Linked DNA regions of Homo sapiens: regions 1, 2, 4, 5, 6 and 7 are each linked to region 3. The links are contacts of gene promoters, found by promoter capture Hi-C in human tissues and cell types (Jung and others, 2019). All regions are on one chromosome and are shown on one strand. The core of a region is centred on a gene start or on the middle of the fragment in contact, and the rest is flanking DNA. Distances in the headings are between cores, read along the strand shown.

What was found. The method cuts DNA at HindIII sites, captures the fragments that hold promoters and counts their contacts. A contact is called where the count stands out against the background at its distance.
Region 1: a fragment that was not itself captured here is called in contact with the fragment with the promoter of ABCC12 in region 3 in 1 of the 25 tissues and cell types used here (dorsolateral prefrontal cortex).
Region 2: a contact is called between a fragment that was not itself captured here and the fragment with the promoter of ABCC12 in region 3, in 2 of the 25 tissues and cell types used here (dorsolateral prefrontal cortex and mesenchymal stem cells).
Region 4: a fragment that was not itself captured here is called in contact with the fragment with the promoter of ABCC12 in region 3 in 4 of the 25 tissues and cell types used here (H1 embryonic stem cells, dorsolateral prefrontal cortex, lymphoblastoid cells and 1 more).
Region 5: a fragment that was not itself captured here is called in contact with the fragment with the promoter of ABCC12 in region 3 in 3 of the 25 tissues and cell types used here (dorsolateral prefrontal cortex, mesendoderm cells and spleen).
Region 6: a contact is called between a fragment that was not itself captured here and the fragment with the promoter of ABCC12 in region 3, in 2 of the 25 tissues and cell types used here (dorsolateral prefrontal cortex and lymphoblastoid cells).
Region 7: a fragment that was not itself captured here is called in contact with the fragment with the promoter of ABCC12 in region 3 in 3 of the 25 tissues and cell types used here (aorta, dorsolateral prefrontal cortex and mesenchymal stem cells).

The regions. Positions count from the first base shown.
Region 1 is chr16:47,271,676-47,274,927 of GRCh38, forward strand. The region is part of intron 10 of ITFG1 (integrin alpha FG-GAP repeat containing 1); the gene reads right to left. ITFG1-AS2 (ITFG1 antisense RNA 2) reads left to right here and starts at 1,297. Exons shown (of 3, transcript XR_007065056.1): 1 at 1,297-3,252. The HindIII fragment of the contact is 3,754 bases long and covers 1-3,252 here.
Region 2 is chr16:47,348,840-47,352,534 of GRCh38, forward strand. The region is part of intron 8 of ITFG1 (integrin alpha FG-GAP repeat containing 1); the gene reads right to left. Among named protein-coding and RNA genes, the nearest start is that of ITFG1-AS2, 78 kb to the left of the region's middle. The HindIII fragment of the contact is 3,472 bases long and covers 1-3,323 here.
Region 3 is chr16:48,154,443-48,158,024 of GRCh38, forward strand. ABCC12 (ATP binding cassette subfamily C member 12) reads right to left here and starts at 1,551. Exons shown (of 31, transcript NM_001393797.1): 1 at 1,399-1,551. RefSeq lists an enhancer at 3,535-3,582. The HindIII fragment of the contact is 12,201 bases long and covers 1,180-3,582 here.
Region 4 is chr16:47,405,199-47,408,761 of GRCh38, forward strand. All of the region lies in intron 6 of ITFG1 (integrin alpha FG-GAP repeat containing 1), which reads right to left. Among named protein-coding and RNA genes, the nearest start is that of ITFG1, 54 kb to the right of the region's middle. The HindIII fragment of the contact is 8,012 bases long and covers 1-3,563 here.
Region 5 is chr16:47,227,404-47,230,742 of GRCh38, forward strand. All of the region lies in intron 13 of ITFG1 (integrin alpha FG-GAP repeat containing 1), which reads right to left. Among named protein-coding and RNA genes, the nearest start is that of ITFG1-AS2, 44 kb to the right of the region's middle. RefSeq lists a silencer at 3,022-3,222. The HindIII fragment of the contact is 6,477 bases long and covers 1-3,339 here.
Region 6 is chr16:47,384,934-47,388,171 of GRCh38, forward strand. All of the region lies in intron 6 of ITFG1 (integrin alpha FG-GAP repeat containing 1), which reads right to left. Among named protein-coding and RNA genes, the nearest start is that of ITFG1, 75 kb to the right of the region's middle. RefSeq lists an enhancer at 1,645-2,145. The HindIII fragment of the contact is 4,169 bases long and covers 1-3,238 here.
Region 7 is chr16:47,444,080-47,447,267 of GRCh38, forward strand. All of the region lies in intron 5 of ITFG1 (integrin alpha FG-GAP repeat containing 1), which reads right to left. Among named protein-coding and RNA genes, the nearest start is that of ITFG1, 15 kb to the right of the region's middle. The HindIII fragment of the contact is 5,602 bases long and covers 1-3,188 here.

The DNA.
Region 1 (3,252 bases), core at 419-2,918, 880 kb before region 3:
GTGAAACCCCGTCTCTACTAAAAATACAAAACAATTAGCTGGGCGTGGTGGTGGGCGCCTGTAGTCCCAGCTACTTGGGAGGCTGAGGCAGGAGAATGGTGTGAACCCGGGAGGCAGAGCTTGCAGTGAACTGAGATCACACCACTGCACTCCAGCCTGGGCGACAGAGCGAGATTCCATCTCAAAAACAAACAAACAACAAAAACCAGAGTTCCACCTCTAAAGAATATTCTACTCCTAGGTATATCTCAAGAGAAATGAAAACATGTCTACATAAAAACTTGCATATGAATGTTCACAGCAGTATTCATAATAGCCAAAAAGTGCAAAAAACCCATATGTCCATCAACTGAAGGATGAATAATGAAATGTAGTATAACCATATAATGGTCTGTTGACAACAGAAAGAAAGGAATACTGCTACACACTACGACATAGAAAAATCTTGAAAACATTATACCAAGTCAAATAAACCAGTCATAAAGTAACACATATTGTATAACTGCATATACAAGATGTTCAGAACAGGTCCAATTATAGAGACAGAAAGCTACAGAGACAGAAAGCTATAGAGACAGAAAGAAGATTAGTGGTTTCCTAGGTCTGGTGGCAGTGGACGAAGTCGTAGGGGAATTGGAGAGTAACAGCTAAGGTGAATGGGGCTTCTTTTTAGGGTAATAAAATGTCCTAAAATTGCTTGTGATGATGGATGCACAACAATATGAATACATTTTTTTTTAATTGAAGTCCAGCTCTGTTGCCCAGGCTGGAGTACAGTAGTGTGATCTCGGTTCACCGCAATCTCTGCCTCCCAGGTAGAAGTGATTCTCCTGCCTCAGCCTCCTGAGTAGCTGGGATTACAGGCACGCGCCACCACGCCCAGCTAATTTTTGCATTTTTAGTAGAGATGGGGTTTCACCATGTTGGCCAGGCTGGTCTCGAACTCCTGACTTCAAGTGATCTGCCTGCCTCGGCCTCCCAAAGTGCTGGGATTACGGGCGTGAGCCATTGCGCCCAGCCTGAATACACTTTTAAAAGCCACTAAATTGTATAGAATAAATGGGTGAATTGTATGGTGTGTGAATTATATCTCAACAAAGTGGTTAATACAAAAGTTAACTGCAGAACATTTCAACCTATTTAAAAAACCCATGGTAAATGTTTAAGTGACATAATGTGTAAAATGTACATATTAAATGTTGCTTCTCTGAATATGCCAATATTTGTATATCTAGTATGCAATTTTTTTGAGGCTGGTTTTAATTTATCTTCAAAGGCTATAAAATTGGTGGTGTTACTCAATACACTACCACTTGATGAGGTCTGGGTTATTCTAGGTGGTTAATGTGCTGTAAGCAACTGTCTTACTTCTCATTAAGAGAGGTAGCTTATGGATCATTTAACTTAAAGTCTGATTTTTCTCCTTGGCTGTCCTTAGAGCTCATGTCCATTTTAGTCATTTCTATATTCAGTGAGTTCTCCTCTTCCAGACTGTCTTTAACTCTCTTCCTTAATTCCCCAATTTCATTATCAGCCTAGACTCAAATGGAAAGAGCTTCAATGTGGGGATACGTCTGTCTTACTGTATAAACCTTAGGAAAGCCAGTTCTACATGGAGAAGAAAAACAAATTAAGAAGAAACACAAATAAGTCCATTAGGAATCCTCTAAAAATTAAACATTAAAAAAATGATGCTCTGAAACCCATGCTGCCTACTATCGGTAAGTGCAGAATGCTTAGCTAAGCTGATATAAAACTTTCACTTAGAAATACTAAATATTATTGAAGTGTTTTGCAACATATGCTACTGACAACAAGAAATAGTCAAAGGCAATTAATTGATATTCACAATAAAGTTCACTTTATCTCTGGGCAAATGCAATCCATTTATCCCCAGTCAGTGTCTAGGATATGTGACTCAGTGGGGGAGACAGCACATGTTACCTGAATGAAAAAAGGAAGCGAGCATCTTTTGTAGAGGGAGGCCAACTGAAAGGGAAACCTAATGGAATATAACACTGTGACTGCTGAAAAGTTTCTGTCAAATAGGTGAGTAGAAAATATTTTGTCATGTTTTAATTTACCTATATTCAAAAGAATCTATTAGTTTGTTTGTTTATTTATTTATTTATTTATTTATTTAGAGATGGAGTCTCACTCTGTTGCCCAGGCTGGAGTGCAGTGGTGTGATCTTGGCTCACTGCAAACTCCTCCTCCAGGGTTACTACAAAATATTCATTAGCTCATAAAAGGTAAGAAATCCATGTACTTTAATAACTATGAGATACAAGAATTAATCGGCTGGGCGTGGTGGCTCACGCCTGTATTCCCAGCACTTTGGGAGACCGAGGTAGGTGGACTGCTTGAGGTCAGGAGTTCAACACTAGCTTGACCAACATGGTGAAACCCCATCTCTACTAAAAATACAAAAATTAGCTGGGTGTGGTGGTGGGTGCCTGTAATCCCAACTACTCGGGAGGCTGAGGCAGGAGAATCGCTTGAACCTGGGAGGTGGAGGTTGTGGTCAGCCAAGATTACGCCATTGCACTCCAGCCTGGGGGACAGAGGGACTCCATCTCATAAAAAGAAAAAAAAAGAACTAACCAAATGTAAGATTCAATCTTATCATCTTGAGAAAAGTTTGACCATGCTGAGTTAACAGAATTGCCCACCTTAAGAAGGTGCATTTATCCTATCAATGAAAGTGTATTAAAGTAAGATTAAACCAGGAATGTATATAAAATCAGCTATTAAATCCTTTGCTAAGCAGAGAACAGAACACTTAGACAATTAACTAAAACTTGGGCTGAAAGAAAGAACAGATGTAACACAATTAGCCCTTCTAGTAAAAAAAACTGAAAACTTTTTTCCTTTTCAGGTTACTGTTGGCCTTAGGTGACCCCAAGTGACCCAATTGAAGATTTAAGCTTCACATGCTATGAGATGAAATTCTCTCTTCTTATTATAATGGTAGCTTTAAAACTGCCAAACAATAGAATACCTATGATAATGAAAATTTGTAGAAAATACCACTAATAAACTCTCACTTCTATATATCCTTATATAGACGTAACAGCTTGTTACGTCTGCTAACAAGCTGTTGAAGACGTAGAGAGATGAACTACAGTGGGAAAGGCCATTAGTCCAATAGATGTTTTGTGGAACAAAATCTGAGTAAGTCTGCTTAAATACCATAGCCATAATGAAAAAGCCTTTCAGAAAGTCCATGATTGTTCCTTCACTCTTTAGAAT
Region 2 (3,695 bases), core at 338-2,837, 810 kb before region 3:
CATCAGACTAACAGCGGATCTCTCAGCAGAAACTCTACAAGCCAGAAGAGAGTGGGGGCCAATATTCAACATTCTTAAAGAAAAGAATTTTTAACCCAGAATTTCATATCCAGCCAAACTAAGCTTCACAAGTGAAGGAGAAATAAAATACTTTACAGACAAGCAAATGCTGAGAGATTTTGTCACCACCAGGCCTGCCCTAAAAGAGCTCCTGAAGGAAGCACTAAACATGGAAAGGAACAACCGGTACCAGCCACTGCAAAAACATGCCAAATTGTAAAGACCACTGATGCTAGGAAGAAACTGCATCAACTAATGAGCAAAGTTACCAGCTAACATCATAATGACATGATCAAATTCACACATAACAATATTAACATTACATGTAAATGGGCTAAATGCTCCAATTAAAAGGCACGGACTGGCAAATTGGATAAAGAGTCAGACCCATCAGTGTGCTGTATTCAGGAAACCCATCTCATGTGCAGAGACACACATAGGCTCAAAATAAAGGGATGGAGGAAGATCTACCAAGCAAATGGAAAACAAAAAAAGGCAGGGGTTGCAATCCTAGTCTCTGATAAAACAGACTTTAAACCAACAAAGATCAAAAGAGACAAAGAACACCATTACATAATGGTAAAGGGATCACTTCAACAAGAAGAGCTAACTATCCTAAATATATATGCACCCAATACAGGAGCACCCAGATTCATACAGCAAGTCCTTAGAGACCTACACAGAGACTTAGACTCCCACACAATAATAATGGGAGACTTTAACACCCAACTGTCAATGTTAAACAGATCAATGAGAGAGAAAGTTAACAAGGATATCCAGGAATTGAATTCAGCTCTGGACCAAGCAGACCTAACAGACATCTACAGAACTCTCTACCCCAAATCAACAGAATATACATTCTTCTCAGCACCACACCACACCTATTCCAAAACTGACCACATAGTTGGAAGTAAAGCACTCCTCAGCAAATGTAGAAGAACAGAAATTATAACAAACTGTCTCTCAGACCACAGTGCAATCAAACTAGAACTCAGGATTAAGAAACTCACTCAAAACTGGTCAACTACATGGAAACTGAACAACCTGCTCCTGAATGACTACTAGGTAGGTAAATAACGAAATGAAGGCAGAAATAAAGATGTTCTTTGAAACCAATGAGAACAAAGACACAACATACCAGAATCTCTGGGACACATTCAAAGCAGTGTGTAGAGGGAAATTTATAGCACTAAATGCCCACAAGAGAAAGAAGGAAAGATCTAAAATTGACACCCTAATATCACAATTAAAAGAACTAGAGAAGCAAAGCAAACACATTCAAAAGCTAGCAGAAGGCAAGAAATAACTAAGATCAGACCAGAACTGAAGAAGATAGAGACAAAAAAACCCTTCAAAACAATCAATGAATCCAGGAGCTAGTTTTTTGAAAAGATCAACAAAATTGATAGACCACTAGCAAGACTAATAAAGAAGAAAAGAGAGAAGAATCAAATAGACGCAATAAAAAATGATAAAGGGGATATCACCACCGATCCCACAGAAATACAAACTACCATCAGAGAATACTATAAACACCTCTACACAAATAAACTAGAAACTCTAGTAGAAATGGATAAATTCCTTGACACATACGTCCTCCCAAGACTAAACCAGGAAGAAGTTGATTCTCTGAATAGACCAATAACAGGCTCTGAAATTGAGGCAATAATTAATAGCTTACCAACCAAAAACAGTCCAGGACCAGATGGATTCACAGCCGAATTCTACCTGAGGTACAAGGAGGAGCTGGTACCATTCCTTCTGAAACTATTCCAATCAATAGAAAAAGAGGGAATCCTCCCTAACTCATTTTATGAGGCCAGCATCATCCTGACACCAAAGCCGGGCAGAGCCACAACAAAAAAAGATAATTTTAGACCAATATCCCTGATGAGCATCGATGCAAAAATCCTCAATAAAATACTGACAAACCGAATCCAGCAGTACATCAAAAAGCTTATCCACCATGATCAAGTGGGCTTCATCCCTGGGATGGAAGGCTGGTTCAACATATGCAAATCAATAAACATAACCCAGCATATAAACAGAACCAAAGACAAAACCACGTCATTTCAATAGATGCAGAAAAGGCCTTTGACAAAATTCAACAGCGCTTCATGCTAAAAACTCTCAATAAACTAGGTATTGATGGGATGTATCTCAAAATAATAAGAGCTATTTATGACAAAACCACAGCCAATATCATACTGAATGGACAAAAACTGGAAGCATTCCCTTTGAAAACTGGCACAAGACAGGGATGCCCTCTCTCACCACTAATATTCAACATAGTGTTGGAAGTTCTGGCCAGGGCAATTAGGCAGGAGAAGGAAATAAAGGGTATTCAATTAGGAAAAGAGGAAGTCGAATTGTCCCTGTTTGCAGATGACATGATTGTACATCTAGAAAACCCCATCGTCTCAGCCTAAAATCTCCTTAAGCTGATAAGCAACTTCAGCAAAGTCTCAGGATAGAAAATCAATGTGCAAAAATCACAAGCATTCTTATACACCAAAAACAGACAAACAGAGAGTCAAATCATGAGTGAACTCCCATTCACAATGGCTTCAAAGAGAATAAAATACCTAGGAATCCAACTTACAAGGGATGTGAAGGACCTCTTCAAGGAGAACTACAAACCACTGCTCAATGAAATAAAAGAGGACACAAACAAATGGAAGAACATTCCATGCTCATGGATAGGAAGAATCAATATCGTGAACATTGCCATTCTGCCCCGGGCAATTTATAGATTCAGTGCCATCCGCATCAAGCTACCAGTGACTTTCTTCAGAGAATTGGAAAAAGCTACTTTAAAGTTCATACGGAACCAAAAAAGAGCCCGCATTGCCAAGTCAATCCTAAGCCAAAAGAAGAAAGGTGGAGGCATCACGCTACCTGACTTCAAACTATACTACAAGGCTACAGTAACCACAACAGCCATGTACTGGTACCAAACAGAGATAGAGACCAATGGAACAGAACAGACCCCTCAGAAATAATACCACACATCTACAACTATCTGATATTTGATAAACCTGACAAAAAAGAAATGGGGAAAGGATTCCGTATTTAACAAATGATGCTGGGAAAACTGGCTAGCCATATGTAGAAAGCTGAAACTGGATCCCTTCCTTACACCTTATACAAAAATTAATTCAAGATGGACTAAAGACTTAAATGTTAGACCTAAAATCATAAAAACCCTAGAAAAAACCTAGACAATACCATTCGGGACATTGGCATGGGGAAGGACTTCATGTCCCAAATACCAAAAGCAATGGCAACAAAAGCCAAAATTGACAAATGGGATGTAATTAAACTAAAGAGCTTCTGCACAGCAAAAGAAACCACCATCAGAGTGAACAGGCAACCTACAGAATGGGAGAAAAGTTTTGCAATCTACTCATCTGACAAAGGGGTAATATCCCAAATCTACAATGAACTCAAACAAATTTACAAGGAAAAAACAAACAACCCCATCAAAAAGTGGGCGAAGGATATGAACAGACACTTCTCAAAAGAAGACATTTATGCAGCCAAAAAACACATGAAAAAATGCTCATCATCACTGGCCATCAGAGAAATGCAAATCAAAACCACATTGAGATACCATCTATACCAGTTAGAATGGC
Region 3 (3,582 bases), core at 301-2,800:
TCCACTTACGTTGAGCACGGCAGCCCCTCCTGGGCAGGGTATACATGCTTTAGTTTGCCACAATCCCCACCACTCCTTACTGTCTCTGTGACTCTGAGATTTGGGGTCATGTAACATTTATTATTGCATTGGCACTGCTGTCTTCCTTATAGTGTTTCCTGAGGCCTTTTTCTCTATCCTTGTCTCTGCCCCAAGAGAGAACAAAAGATGTCTAGAAGTCATCTCAAGAAGAACCATTTTCCACACCTGCCCACTTTGCTCTGTTATATTTCATTTCTGCCCCTGTCTAGCCCAGAAAATTAACAACTTTATGTTTGAGAACTGGACTCTGGGTCTTCCTTGGTGCTCATGATGGGAGTTCCTCCATCAACCAAAAGCAGGCACACCTTTAGTCATAAAATTTTTCCCAGGTATGAGACTACAGCCCTACTTCTTTCTTAATAAATCCATTGTTAATTTAAAGCCACCAAAGTTATCAATATCTGATGGTCTCCCCCAACTCCCACAGCCCCTTCCTCCAGGGCCTGACTGGCCTCCAGCACAGAGGAGACACTGGGGAGCTCTCCCAGGCCCTGCCTGCACCGCACCTCTCCTGTCTGTCCCCAGGTCCCAGGCACCTGTGGCAGCCAGATCAGAAAGCCCTGTGAGTGATGAGGGACTGGGGTTGGGAGGCAGGGAGAGGCAGAGAGGTGGCAGAGGGAAGTGCATGCAGGGGACAGCACCAAGCTGGGGGTGTGGGAAGGGAAGTGGGGGTGCTTTTGCTCAAGTACCCTCATCTCCCAGAAGGCCTAAAACAGTGGCCAGTGATGGCATCTCCAAAAGAGGTCATCCATCCAGTTACAGACACATTCCGACACGATCAAAGAAGGATGCAGAGCCTGGATTCAGAGCAATTCAAATCTACCCTCCCAGGAAAATAATATATTTAAAAGTTAAAAAAAAAAAAAAAAGAAAGAAAGATGAAAACCTCATATGAGAACTGCAGTAAAGCTTTCCAGGTCTTTTTTTTTGGGGGGGAGGTATAAATCCCATAATTAAATTGTGAACACTACCCTGTATATGTGTTTGTGTTTGTGCATGTGTGGGAAAAGACTTAAAATATTCAATGTAGGCTTTTGTATTTCAGAGATTTTGAAATCGCGTCTTGGCATTTCTGCCTTTTCTTTTATGATAGCGGGGGCTCCAAAAGTGGAAGAGGGGCTGCCTTTCTTCTGGGAGCCTCGTCCCTGCTGCCTCCCACTTGGGCAGCCCCATTCAGTGGTGTCACCTCCCCCAAACCCCCCACCACACACACACACAGCCTGTCCTGAGGATGAGAAACAAAGGCCCTTGGGACTAAATGGTGGCCACTAATTGTTACAGGGAGAAGCTTTACCTGGGCTGGAAATGAAGCTTTACCTGGGCTGAGGATGAGAGGGAGGGGAGGAGGGTCAGCAGTCATGGGGCTCAGAGCCTGGCATCTGCTGCCCAGGACTCCAGGGCCTGCTTCTCCCCAAGGACCTCAGATTCAGTTTCTCTTGTCCCACCCGCCTGAAGTCCTCCTCTCCAACTGCCCCATTCAACTGCCACTCCCACCACACCTGAGAGGGAACTCTGGCGGGCCAACATTCCCTCTGCCCACATTAAAGGGCTCTCCCCTCTTCCAGGATGGCCTGTGGCCGGGTCTGGCTCTTTGGTGACAGTCAGAGCCCATGCATGAAAGCACTGTGCATGGCCAGCCCTTCCCTGGCTGTCACAGCACATCCTTGTAGAAGAGAAGGAGAAAAATCCTCTCTCCAACCGTCATTCTACAGACGAGAAGCCCAAGGAACAGAAGCCTGTCCACGACTGGCGTGGGGCTGAGACCAGCACCCAGGTCCCCTGAGTCCCACTCCAGGCTCCTTCCTGAGAGAATGCATCGAATTTTCTACGCTGTGTTCCTGCAACCGGGAATCAACTTTGGGATCAGGGGAAGGGAAGGGAGGGGAGGGGAGGGCAGGGGTAGGGGAGGGCAGGGGTAGGGGAGGGCAGGGGAGGCGAGGGGAGGGGAGATGAGCCTCATCTTCAAAACAGAAAATCTCATTCATTCATTCCCCATTCATTTAACGAAAAAGAAAAGGGTAATTTGAGCTCAATTTGTCTTGAAATGAACGGAAGGTAAGTCTGAGACCTGCACTAGCAGCTAGCCCTTGCATAGAAAAGTTCCCCTGTGTCACCCTTGGAACCCTGCACATCCCGAGCGCAAGCGTGATTCCCGGGGTCCCTTCTGCGCCTGTCCCAGAACAAGCGCCCGATTTCAGGGGAGCCCAGCCGAAGGGTTCCACAGCGCTCAGCGAGCCGGCTGGGAGGGAGCAAACTCTCTAACTGCAGAAAAAAACAAATCTTGATTCCGCTTTAAGGGTTATTTAAACATCTTAGAGGACCTTCCCAGCCTCACGCACGTGGATTTCATGAGGAACTTGGCCGCTACCTTCTCCTGTCCTGCGCAATGCCGCCCCCTGCTGGCTGCCTTCCGGCCCCGCCGCTTCCTGGAGATGCGAATTCACCGCCTTTGCCCAACCTGAGTTCCCTTCCTACCTAGAGGGAGGTGGAAATGGAGAGGGGCTGTGGGCAGCTGTGTAGGAAAATGGGTCCTCCCAGGAAGGCTCCCCGGCCTGGGGAGTGAGCTAGACCGACAGCAGTTTCCTTACACGTGTCCAAAGTGTTCCATTTAATTTCCGTCCATTCTTCCCTTCATGAATGCAAATCACTGCTAATAATATCACTCGACATTTCTGGAGCCCTTTGTGTATCGCAAAATTCTTCATCCTCTTTATCACTTGATCTTCGCAACAACCCCGGGGGTCTCATAAACACAGCAAAGACTCGCTTCCACAATCTTCCAAACGGAGTCAAGTGCTGTCAAGTTTATGGAGGAAGAATGCCGATCAGTTTTCCTCTATCTCCATGAAAGGCTGGGCGGAGATGGATTTCCACCCAGACAAACAGTATTGGGCGCTACGCAAGAAGATTGGTGGGCCTAGCCGGAAACAGAGTGGAGAATGATGGAGAGGGACTGTCCGGTCTGTATCCAAGGAAGTCCTTAGGAAAAGACCAGCCAAGCTCCTGTTCCAGGCAGAGCGTGGACTCACCCATAGTCAGGGAACTGAGGCCCATCCTGGGTGTACACACAGCTCGCGGGGGGGCGAGATAATCCACTGGAATACAAAAAGAAAAAAAATAGAAATCCTTTTCATATTTCTCCTCTTCCTTTAAAAATTCTATTTTGGCTGTGTGCAGAGGCTCAGGCCTATAATCCCAGTACTGGGGGGCCAAGGCAGGTGGATCACTTGAGCCCAGGCATTCAAGACAAGCCTAGGCAACATGGTGAAACCCCATCTCTACTGAAAATACAAAAATTAGCTGGGCGTGGTGGCATGTGTCTGTAGTCCTAGCTACTTGCGAGGCTGAGGTGGGAGTATGAATTGAGCCAGGGAAGTCAGGACTGCAGTGAGCTGTGATCGTGCCACTGCATTCAGGCCTGGATGATGAGAGTGACTCTGTCTCAAAAAAAAAAATTGTGTACAGTGATATACATGTGTAGGGGAGAAAAAGTGTGATACT
Region 4 (3,563 bases), core at 845-3,344, 750 kb before region 3:
ACACATAGAAGATCAATCTGGTATACACAGACCAAAGCAGTAGCTATATTAATATCTAGAGTTTCAGTTAATATGAAACTTTTGCTTTCTCCACCATATGTCTGTAATGTCTAAGTATTTAAAGTGAGCATGTACTAGTCCATTCTTAACCAGGTGACCACCTAGGGAGTTTAAAAATAGGTTTTAGGCTGTTTATGAATAGAACATTTTATTTTTGTGGGCAATATATATCCATATTTTCCCAGTTGTCTTAAAAATATCTTTCACAACTTCTTTCCTTCTTTGTTTAAGAGCCAATGAAAACGTACATGTGCATTTAATGGTTAAAAAATTTTATGTTAACATTTATTTTATATCAAATGAAAGTTTAGAGGCAGAAAGGCCCTTGGGCTCCATGGAGAAGCTGCTGAACCTCTGTATGTCAGTTTTACAATATGTGTACTGGGGTTAATAACAGAACTTACTCTGTAAGGTGATTGTGAGGATGAAAAAGCAAATACATATACAGTGCTTAGAACAGTGCTAGCCTCATCTAAATGCTCAACAAATGGTAGTTATTATTCTCATTATTTATTCATGACTGTATTTCAGATAAAGACTAAACGTTTGTTGCAGGTTTGATGCTCTGACTTTTTGGGGGGATGAATAAGGGGGGTACTTTCCTGGATTAAGTCCTGGTTCTAATAATAGATACTTATAATTATGAAATAAGCAAGATGTAATATAGCTACAACAGAATATTTCTGTGAAGTTTCTCTCAGAAGTGTTTAGTCCAGGAATATATGTGTGTACACATACAGAAGTTACGGCATACTTGAAATAAAACATTTTCCATTACTTTGTCTCTCTGGTGCCCCTTCCTTATCAGAGAACATAATGATAATATCAGAAACAACTGCAGTTTTTAGTAAACAGGTCTCTTCATCTTTGCTGATAAAGATCAACTATTTTTTAGAGCAGAATTTGAATCAGTTCAAATGATGCATTTAGAAGCGATTTATATGATAACCTTATGATATCTTAAGGTTGGAGTGATTTAATTTGTATTTTTAGAAAAGAAACAAAATTCTTGAAAAATGTGTCTGTTATTTTCTATGTCTGCTTAGATAAAATTCCCACAGCCAAAGTATCTAAGCATTGTATGTATTTCTGAAAATCTTCTGGGGTTTTTAAAAGGAAGCTCATTCAATAGTGTATGTTTGAACTTCTGCAAACTAACGCCAATTTCATCAAGAGCTCCTTTTGTTAGTTGTTAAATCTTTAGCTGAAAAAGGCCTACCAATTAGGGACAGTTTGAGTACTTAAAAATATGCTAGCTGTCCTTAAGGTTCTCTTTTCTCCCCCAAAATGTGGCTATTCAACAGGTATCTGTCAAGTCCCTATTTGGTGGCAGGCACTGTTCTGGGCACTGGAGAAATGACAGTGAACCGAAGAAACAATCTATGCCCTCATGGAGTTTGCATTCTAGTATGGGAAGAAGCAATAAAAACATTAAGTATATAGTATTTTAGCAGGTGAAAGGGCTTTGAAGAAAAACTAAAGAAGGGTAAGGGCAAAGGAGAGTGTTTGAAAGTTGTGATTTTGAATATAGCGACCCTCACTGAGAAGGAACATAACATTTAAATAAAGATGTGAAGAAGGTAAAGTATATTTTGAGAAATAACTTGAGGGAGGTGATCTGGATATCCGCAGGAATAATATTCTAGGCAGAGAAAATAGTTATTCAACCCAAGTCCTAAGGTTGGACCTTGTCTTGTATTTAAGAAACAATAAGGAGGCTGGCAGGCTAGCTCAAGGCATCAAGCGGGAAAATAGAATGGAAGGTCGAGGAGATAATGGTGGGCCGAGTAAGTGTGGCCTAGTAGGCTGTTTTAAGGACTTTGGCTATTTATCCAAATGTAATGAAGAAGCCACTGGAAGATTTTGGGAAGAGTCATTTACATTTATAACGGATAATGGGAGACAAGGGTGGAAGCAAGGAAACCAGTAACTGAAACAATCCAGGTGAGAAATGATGGCGACTTGAACCAGGAGGTTACAGTGGAGGTGGTAAGAAGTGAACAAGTTGTGGAAATATTTCAAAGGAAGAATGAGCAGGATTTCCTTGCAGACTTGATATTGGGTGTGACAGAAAGAGGCAGCAAGGATGACTCCAATGTTTTTTATGTTTTGAGACAGAGTCTTCCTCTGTCACTCAGGCTGGAGTGCAGTGGTGTGATCTCGGCTCACTGCAACCTCTGCCTCCTGGGTTCAAGTGATTCTCGTGCCTCAGCTCCCTAGTAACTGGGATTACAGACATGCCTGGCTAATTTTTCTTTTTGTATTTTTAGTAGAAATAGGGTTTTGCCATGTTGGCCAGGCTGGTCTAGAACTCCTGGTCTCATGTGATCCGCCTGCCTTGGCCTCCGAACGTGTTGGGATTACAGAAGTGAGCCACTGCGCCCAGCCAACTCAACATTTTGACAGAATTGGAAGGACGGGACTGCCATTTAGTGAGACGGGAAGCTTAAGGGTTGAGGTGGTTTAGGAGGAAAGATCAGGGATTCATTTTGGGAAAAATAGTCTGAACTGTCTATCAGACATGGACATAAAAGTGGACATGGCTAGTAGGCAGTTGCTATGTGGCTTTGGAGCATAGTGGGACGTCTAGCTTGGACATATACATACATATGTTATTAGTATGCAGGGTTATGACCCAGTAGATGGTGCTTATTAAAGCCATGAGATCACCAAGAGTGTGCAAAGAAAGAAAAATAAGACTCCTGTATAGCTCCACTAAATATACTACAAACAACTGACACTCAGGGTATTACTGTACATCTGGAGCTGAAATTCCACTGCATTTTAAAACGCAAATCAGTGTCTTTAAAAATCAAGTTTAAAATTTTCAATACAGAATGAATAGAGTGATGCCAGGCTATAACCACTTCCTTGAGGTTTATGCTTTAGTATTATTTGAGTCTGGTGATCTTGTTTTTTCGTCTTTGGTTCCTAGCACAATGCTTGGAAGAGTAAAGTCTCAGTAAATAATTTTGAATTTGATGAATGAATGAATGAAAAGTATGTGTGATATTAAAGAAATTTTCAGGTTATGTTTCCCTTGGCCGATGACATAACACTTGCCCTTTTAAATGTCCAACAGGTCCCATCCACTCTGCACAAAGAAGTTCCTAAGCAGGCATTCTGAGTGTGAGCTTACAAGTTCTAAAAGTAAAACATATGCTTGGCTTGACCAATAAAGGTGAGGCTAAAGGCCATGTAAAGTGATATCTTTCCAGTTTTACAAGAAGTAGAGAAATGATCTAATAAAGAAAAAGGTAAAGAGTCCCTGGGGTTGAGGACTATATATTTAATATCTCATCAATAGACCAGACTCTAATTCCTTTATCTCAGGGCCATAGTCAGAACCATGATAACTATTTTCCAAAAAAAAAGAAAGCAAAAACAGGCGTGGTGCTCAGAGAGACAGTTCTAATTTATGTGACTTGTCACAGCTGAGATCTTATCTTGACTGGATATATGTCTATATTGAAGATATTAGATTATTCTTTCTCATTATTTGG
Region 5 (3,339 bases), core at 329-2,828, 930 kb before region 3:
TTAGACATATTAGTGATGGTTCAATTTTTCATACTATCAGTAAAAAAAGACTATCATTGGCACCCTTTTTCTCATTCTAGGATGTGTCACACTGATGTAATGCAGTTTAGGTGTTGTATCATATAGATTCTTTCTAACTAACCTGATCTCTTGTGTGCCTATTGTCTTATAAAATTGGGGTTGGAATACCTCTGTTTTCTTTAGAGACTTTTTTAGTAAGCCAAATGGTGGTTTCTATATTAGTGTCAATTATTTGATTACCTAGGGTTTGTTTCAAGGTCTTGGGCTCCTATAGTGGAGCGCAAATAATACTTCAAATCATTGGCTCTGGATGATGAAATAAAAATGGAAAAACATATAAAAGATACTGTATTAGGTATAATCAATAGCTATTATATGATAGAAATTCATGATTCTAAAATATTAGAAAAATAGCTGACTTATAGAGTGGACTTAACTTTTCTCAAGGGTAATTTTTAAAAATCCTGTTTATTTTTTAAGTGAACACTCACTGGCATTTGTCTTTATCTTCATTAACGTTAGCTGTAATGCCCAATTTAGTTTAATATTGACATTTTTTATTGTTTCTTGCTCTTTAAGACATTAAATAAAACATTATTTCCTTTAATTTTGGTTATTTTCCAATGAAAACTGCAAGATATTTTCCCTCTGACTAAGGTAAGTAAAGGACTGTAAAAAGGTATATTAAATGCAGAAAATATCCATATCATCGTTTTTCTATCTTTGGTACACGAAGCATGATATCACCACTGTCAGGTGTGATAAAAGAAAGGCAAACAGAATTAAGGAGTGAGTAATATTTTAAGGAATGTCAAATAAATCAGTTATAATCAATAAATAGTGGTTGAAGTAATGCCTGCTATATTTTAAAGCATGGTAAAACAGTACCAAGTAAGATCATTCACTTCACCAAAATAAAGATAAGAAGGTTTTTTTTTTGTTTGTTTGTTTTTTAGACAAGGTCTCACCCTGTTGCCCAGGCTGGAGCCCAGTGGCGCGATCACAGCTCACTACGGCCTTGACTTGTGCTCAGGCGATCCTCCCACCTCAGCCTCCTGAGTACCCGGGATTACAGGCGTGTGCCACCACATGCAGCTAATGTAAAACATTTTTATTCTGTAGAGACAGGATCTCACTATGTTGCCCAGGCTAGTCAGACAAGTCTCGAACTCCTGGGCTCAGGCAGTCTTCTGCCTCAGCCTCCCAAAGTGCTGGGATTACAGGTGTAAGCCATGGCATCTGACCCGAAGATAAATGTACTTGTCCTGTACTTTGTCAGAATGTTCCTAAATAGAATAGGTAAAAGCCTGAGACCCCTTCTGATTGAAAAGATTAAAAAGTTAAGTCACCTTGTTCTGTTGCATATATTAAAAATTAATTGTTGTAACAATGGAAACAATTGTGTTTCATTAGGAGGTATTTCTGTGAGCATTAATAGGGAATGTTTTTCCTTTGCATCAGAGCTTTTCCAGAATGCATTTCTCTTGTAAATAGCTTGTAATTTATTTTTCAAGTTTTCATACTTAACAGTGAATATGCTATTGGGGTGAGAGATGTGATGGTAAACTTATCAATGACGGCCCATTAAAAAGCAAACCAAATTCTAGAGAAAGCTCATTTATTCATACCTCAAATATTTGTCATGTAACTATGTGTCAGGCACTGTGCTGGGGAGTAAAGACTGAATAATCAATAAGACACAATCCTGAAGGGACTTAACACAGATACTCACCCACTTTAAACTATAATAAGTGACAGTAGTAGGACTAGGCATAGGGTGCTAAGAAACAACAGAAGGTGCATCCAACTCTATGTCAAACGGAAGCCAGGGAATGCTTTCTCGGAGGAAATATTGTCTGAGTGCCAACCTGAAGGTCACACAGAGCAAACTAGGAGAAGGTGAAGAAGAGAAGGCTTTGTTACAGAGGCAGGTGCAGGAACAGGAGGTGACAGAGGTGACAGAACATAGTGGTTCAGAGATCTGATTATAGAGTTGTGGGAGGGCCTGAGGAAAAACTGCAAGAGATAAGGCTGAAGGGGTAAACCAGGGCTCTATCTCAGGAAGCTAGATTTAGATCATCTCTCAAGGGTAAAGGGTAGCCACTGAAGGTTTGTGTTTTAGAAAGATCACTGTTGTATGTTTTTGAAGGATAGCTTAGATAACTGCTGCAGTCAGGCAAAAAAAAAAAAAAGTCCTGAAATAAAGTAACAGGACAGAGAGAAGGGACAGTTGTGGGGAAAGAATGATAATCTAGTAGATTTGGGAGACAAGGGAAAGGAAAAAGTGAGCCAGGGAACGTGGGAAGAGGACTGGGTTTTGGGGGGTGGGGAACATTACATTTCAGGGTCCTTCCTTGTAAGGGACTTAGATACAAAGGTCTGATGTTCAGGAAAGTGGTTGAGATCACTTAAAGAGTTTAGAGTAGTCGCCGCTCATGTGCGGTTTCATGTCCTGTGGTTTCAGTTACTCATTGTACAATACCATAATGTATTTTGAGAGATAAATATTCACATAACTTTTATTACAGTATATTGTTATAACTGTTCTATTTTATTATCAGTTATTGTTGTTATTAATCTCTTACTGTGCCTAATTTCTGAACTAAGCTTTATCATAGGTACGTACGTGTAGGAAAAAGAAGGTGCATAGGGTTCAGTACTATCCGAGGTTGCAGGCATCCACTGGGGATCTTGGAATGCGTCTTTGTGGATAAGGGGGGACTATTGTATATATAGTGAGAAGAGAACCTAGGATGGAACCTGAAAATCACCAACATTTGAAAGATAGGCAGAAGAGAAGTTCATAAAGAAACCCGGAAGAATGGACAGAGAGGTAGGAGGAGAGCTGGGAAGAAAGAGCAGGAAGGCAGCCGAGAAAAGGGAGTGTTTCGGTAAGTGTTGGCAGTATCACATGCAGCTGCAGCGGCATAAGCTCAAAGGCTAGACGATAACAGTGGGTTAAGGATACTGAGGTGAGGAATTTGAGAGATCCAAATGCAGGCAACTCGAGTTTGGCTGAGAAAAGAAAAGAGAGATGGGTAGTAGCTGGAGGGGATGTGGGTTTCAGAAGGTACATATGTATACATGTACAGATAAGAGACTTAGGCATCCTTAACTGCTGAAGGAAAGACACCAGCAGACAAGTGGAGGCCAGATGCATAGGCCAAATAAACAGTGGAACAAGGCCCATAAGGTTCCTGGAGAGGAGGCAGGTGTGACCCACAGCACAGCTGGCACGCTGATTTTCAGTCAAGAGGAAAAGCAATGAGAATGGCTGTGGAGGAAGGGATTATGTTTAGTGCTGCAGAGGTCAACTGA
Region 6 (3,238 bases), core at 181-2,680, 770 kb before region 3:
CCTTGAGGAGGCAGATGTGGAAATTGACAAATACTATGTGGTAATGGCTCTGCTAGAATTATGAATACATACTATTGGAACAGAGCTGGCAGAGGTACTCTCTTGTTGGACGAATTTGAGGAGGGCTTCACTGAGGAAGTGACATTTGCACTGGTCAGAAACTGTGCAATTCGTTTTAAGAAGTTATTATATTCACATTAGTGAAATGCTAACATTACCAACACGTGACATTGTGTTTATAAAGGTCTGTATGTTTGAAATAAGTTAAAATCAAATAATCAGATTATTAAGAAACTTCAGGTTAAAGTAATTTATTAAAATAATGAGGCACACTCATGGCCTCTAATAAAATTAGTTCAAAAAAATTAAACAAAGTTTATTAATGTAAAATACACACTAAATACACTTAACAATTATAAAAATTGCTCTTATATGCATTCCAGTGGTACACAATCTGAAGTTGGTAATTCTGAGAAGTAAATAATTTCCCCAGCATATGGCATTTGATTAAAGTAGTCCCTAAACTTAATATGTGAAACTACAAAAAATTTCTCTTGAAGCAGAAACAAGTATAATAGTGATTAAACATGAAAATAAAATGTATATTAAAAATATTAAGGCTTCCTTTCAAAAGCTACATGAAATAATTTTAAAAACAATGTTAACTCTGAAAGCCTATCTTCAATCATTCTAATGCAGCAAAGAGTAAACCTTACAGTGACTAAGAACTTCTAATGAACCTTCTTTTTCCTCAGTTTTCTCTGCCTGCTGTAATAGCAGAATGCTAGTTATAGGTCATGCTGAGTGCTCACTTCAATGAGAAGACTTCAACCTTTCTTTTTTAATGTCAAAGGGCCTTACAAGAGAACCAAAACTTTGAGCTTTTAAAACTGAAGACTTAAAACACTGCACTAAAAACAAGGAAAGGCTGTTAAGCTAGACAGGACAGTTCTAATGCTGTTTTGTAAATTGATCATATTTAACTTACAGACTAATCTATAACATGGAAGAATATTCCTTTGGAGCATACATGATAAAACCTTCATCCTAAAAAAAGCCACAGCCAAAACAGTGGGCAAAATTCAAGGCCATTGACTTAAACAAAAAAACATCTGTTATCCGGCATTAGGACTGATGAGTTTTAGGTCAGCAAATGCCTACCAATTGTAAAAATTCCCTTCTGGAATGACAGTGTGATCCCTACAGACCTGCTCTCCAGTAAAACAAGCATAACTGGGGGAAATTATTAAAAAAAAATTTACAGTCTCTGGAAATTGTTCTGAGAGCATATAACAAACGAAGAAACATTTATTCAAGAAAATATACTGAAATCAGACAAGAAGAGCAAGAGCCTGTAACTTTTGAACTACTACCTGCTCTTTCTCTCCTCCTCCTAGCTCAGTGTGAAGGAAACTCTGCTTCAGGAAGCTGCAGCCAAAAACACAGGGCTCCCCCTCCACCCAGCTCCTAGTCAAGGACTGTGGTAACTTCTTGCGGGGCAGGCCACCATTTCTCATCTCCTCCTGCTATATGCTGTAGAGGCTAAATTCCAAGAGTGTGAGGTCAAGAGGCTGGGGACACCCCTTCTTCAATCCAGCCCCTACTCACAAAGGTGGAGGATCCATCTCTCGTGCAGCACACTAAGAATGGCAGGGGCCTAGCGACTCACACACCACCCCTTTTGTAGGCCTTTGGTTCAATGCCGGAAAGGGAAGCAAAGATCAGAAGCTACCACTCCAATGCAGTGTTCTGATCCTAAAGCAGGGATGCCTCTCAGGGGGAAAGTGTGTCACTGTCCTCACTCTCACCTCTGGAGCCATGCTCAGGGATTCTGCCCAGGAGAAGCGTCAGGCTGTAACAGGCAGCTACAAAGCTGTCCCCTAATATTTAAAACAGAGTGTGGGGAAGTTCAAGCCTAAGGGTATATTCAAAACAAATGGAGGTTTGATGGAAAGCAATAGAGAGAAGGCAGTCAGCCTCATGAAAGAATCAAACTAAATCACAGACCAGGGCTTAACAGAGAGAACTAGGGAATGAAGATCTACAGATAACCTTCCTGAAGTCTGGACAAACCTACAACACCAACCTACAGAACAAACCTGCAAAGGAATCCAAACTTAATTATATCAGACCATGGAGCAATTTATGACCCAAGGTATTGTCAAAAATAGAGCAATCAGCTGGCAATTACTGAAGCCTAACAGCTGAGTGTGATCCAGAAGGAGACAAAGAGAGCCCTGCTAAAACCACTGTCATACCAGGATGACAAGGTACGTCTCCAAAGCTGTAGCCTCTGAGGAGCAACATCAAAGGCTTCACACTACAGGGAAAATAATCTTTATTGAAATAGTCTAGCCAGTCACTAAACAAATAAGCAAGCAAACAACAATAACAAGCTTTGGGGAGTGGAGGGCAGTATCCAAAGTTGCTACAGTATATTATTGTGGAAAAGAATCTGGCTCCATTTTTTAATATTTGTCTGTTGACAGCTTTTAAATCTTACCCCTCCCTTTTCCTCTTGTGCCCTATATCTGGGCAAGCTGGTAAAAAAGCCAGCCTCCTTTGGTGCTGGTGGGAGGTTCATGCCCCTCAAGCCCTACTCATGCATAGGAACCTCACCCAGGCCCCACCTCCAAACAGCACACAAATAACCTTCCAAGGCAGTCTCCTGTCCTTGATCTCTCAAATCATTTTCAGACCAGTTTGGAAGGCCTGCCTTGCGGTTCCCACAAAGCCTCTTTATGTGATTGATAAACCTTCTCATACCTTCTTGGCTTTTGAGCCAAATTTCGGAGGGAAGACTGTGCATACTTTTTCTGTGGAATGACCATAACAATTACCTAAATGTCCAATAAAAAATTATGAGACCCATAAAGAAACAGGAAAGTATAATCCATATACAAGAAAACAGAAAACCAAAAACCTGGCAACAGACAGTGCTGTGAGAGGGACCAGATGTAAATTTCACAGACAAAAACTTTAAAGCAGCCACTACAAATATGTTAAAAAAAAAAAAGGAAATTATGCTTAAAGAAGTGAAGTGTGCCTTATCAAATATAAAATATCCATAGACAGAAATGATAAAAAACCAAATGGAAATTATGGAACTGAAAGTAAATATACTGAAATAAAAAATTCACTTGAGGGGCTCAACGTTAGCTTTGAACTGCCAGAAGAATTAGCAAACTTCATGACAGATTAAGCAGCCTGAAAAACAGAGAGAAAAAAAGGATAAGGA
Region 7 (3,188 bases), core at 569-3,068, 710 kb before region 3:
TTTTATTTTCAATTCAAATAAATGTGCTAATATGTGTTTCAAGGAATATTATAAAAACTGCTGAGAAATGACTCAATGTATATTGTAGGACACATTGTTAAAAGCAGTCAAGAGTACAATAATGTAAATCAGATAAAACTGATTTATCTACTTTTATAAAATAGGTTATAAAAATAAGATTGTAAAGCAACATGCTATTTCTCATTAATTAACTTACAGCAATGCAATATAATGCAGCTAAAATAATTTATGTTACAAGAAATATGATAAAAGATGTAATAGCTCTTCAGTAAATTTATGTGCATAGTCAACTCTGGGGTCTGGCTTTTGGAGTACTTAGTGTATTGAAAAAAGAATAACACTATGCCTTTCTCATTTTATTAAACATGACAAACTTTTCCTATGAATTTAATAAAAGAAAAAGGTATATACTGTAAAAAATTATTTGGCTCAGAAGCCAACATGTAAATTTATATATTAGGTGATAGTATTATTACATTAACAGGATACAGAAAATAGTAAAAATAAAATTTCATAAGATAAAATAAGATGCTTCACTTTAAATGGAATTTTCTTGATATGATTTTATAAAATATGCTACATTATAGAAAAAGATACCAAATATACAACAAATTATGCAAAAGCTTTATCTACGAATTTGATGGTCCTAGAGAATATTCCAGTCACATCTGCAACAATCATTTTACCTTCCAAAATCACTTTGGCATGAAAGTTACCTTCTTTCCAATTAATGATCTGTCCTGGGATACAGTGCTAAGAACAGTTATAAGATCTGCTTTTTGGAAATTGGTTTTTCTTACAGATGCTCTCTTTTCTTTGCTCTCCCAAGGGTCTCTCTCAACAATAATGGATTTTTTGACAATACTCACGTAATGAAATGGCAAAGTCATTAAAACAAAAACTGTCATGCTACCACAACCCCACTCCAGTGCATCCGAATTCAGAATACATCAACATGGACCATGATGTCTGCTTTTGTATGCAAGCTTCATGTTAAGAGAAATGTACATTAAAAAAAAAAAAAAAAGAAAAACTGGAAGTTCTATTAGTTTGAGATATCTTAGTTAATTATAAGAGATTCCCCAGGCCGGGCGCGGTGGCTCTTCCTGTAATCCCAGCACTTTGGGAGAGCGAGACTCCGTCTCAGAAAAAAAAAAAAAAAAAAAAAAAAAAGATTTCCCCCACGTTTGATATCTATGGGTTTTCACATCCCAGCAAATCACCATTAGTAAGATTTAGGAAATGTAAGGAAGACAGCATTCTCATGTGAAGGAGAAAGTTATAGTGAAAACAGGTACACTCTCAGGCACATGAATTTTAGCTAAGAACACCTATGAAGCCTGAGATTCTAGAAGTTGACATGCTTAAAATGATCTGTATTTCCATATTTCTTTGCAAGTCTTTACTTATGATAAAGTAAACAAACACAGGCTAGCACATTGTGTTTTCAAAGATGGTCACATTATTTCCCATCTCACATGCTCTTTTGCATTCAATTTTGCCGTGCCTATATCAGGAGGTAGAGTCTATCATCTACTAACTCCACTTAATCTTAGCTAGTCCCATGACCTATTTTGACCAAGAGAATATAAAAGAAATGACACTTGTTTAACTTCCAGGATTGGATCTTAAGAGACATGCAGTTTCTGCCTATGTTTCATGGAATGCTTTTGAAAAGCACCCATTATGCTACAATGAAGTCCAAGCTAGCCATGGAGAGAGAGGTGGAGGCCATATGAAGGAGCACCACCAAAGGCCCCCTGTGACTTGTACCCCTTGTACCCCTGTGATGGTACAAGAACGAAGGCAAAAGCACAGCCTTTAGAACTTGGAAGATCCAGATTCAATTCCCAGATTTAGCATTTATTTACGTATTTGTGAGCCTGTGGTAGTCACTTAATCTTTGAATTAGACTCTTAAGTCACTGTTAGCCACACAAGCTATCTGTTGTAAGAAAGAAAAAAAAAAGAGGCAACTGATGTTAAGTGCCAACCCCAGACTTACTTGATAAACATTTAATGAAACAACAACAAGCTTGCTTGAGATACTCTTTGTTCTCTTATTTCCCTATCCAACTCTGAGCCTCCAAAGGGACAGATAAGCTGTACAATTCCGTGGTGTGCCTCCCCAGCAAGATACACAGAAGACTGGGAAAAGCATCACTAGAGAACAAAGTCACCCTGGTAAATTCCTCATGAATCACTCACTCTGGGCTTCAATGAGAACTCAAAGGTGCAGTTCTGGATAAATCTTAAGGACCTCTCAGCAATAATGTCTCAGGTACATAAGAGAAAATACGAAGATTTCTTACATAAGAGAAAACATGAAGATTTCTTTCAGTCATGTTTTATTATACTTTGTCCCAATGTTTCTACCTTCCTAGGGGGTGCAACAGTAAGACTACACCTAAGAGACAGCACTGACTACTAATACAGGCAAATACAGTGGAAGAACAGGCAGTCTGAAAAGAAGCACGCGTCCCACAGTTGAACGCACACCTCCAGTCAGGACTACTGTGAAACTCACTCAGGAGCTAGAACTCAGAGCTTAGGCCTCCAGACTGATAAAAATCAAGTATTTGTAAGGCATTTTCAACAGTGTATACACTTTGAAAAAATGCAACTAGAATCTAATGAAAGAGGACTTAATCTATATTTTCAGAAATTATGATTCTGATTCATTTCACCCTAAATTGAAATGGTAATAGATACTAATCTTACTCAAAGCCTGCTATATACATGGATTTTTCAACTATACTGGTTTTTTCTTTTTTTTTTTTTGAGATAGCGTCTCACTCTGTTGCCCAGGCTACAGTGCAGTGGTGCAATCACGGCTCACTGCAGCCTGGACCTTCCTGGATCAACAATCTTCTCACCTTAGCCTCCCAAGCAGCTGGGACCAGAGGAGTGCACCATCATGCTCGATTAATTTTTTCTTTTTCTTTGTATGTAGAGATGGGGTCTCCCTGTGTTACCCAGGCTGGTCTTGAACTCCTGGGCTCAGGTGATCCTCTTGCCTCATCCTCCCAAAGTGTTGGGATTACTGGCATGAGTCACTGCCCCTAGCCTATACTAGTTTTAATACATACACAGGTATTAACAGTAATGAAATAAAGCAAAATGGTTTCTCCCCAAACAAGGAAACAAAGTTTTAATACATTCCAATAA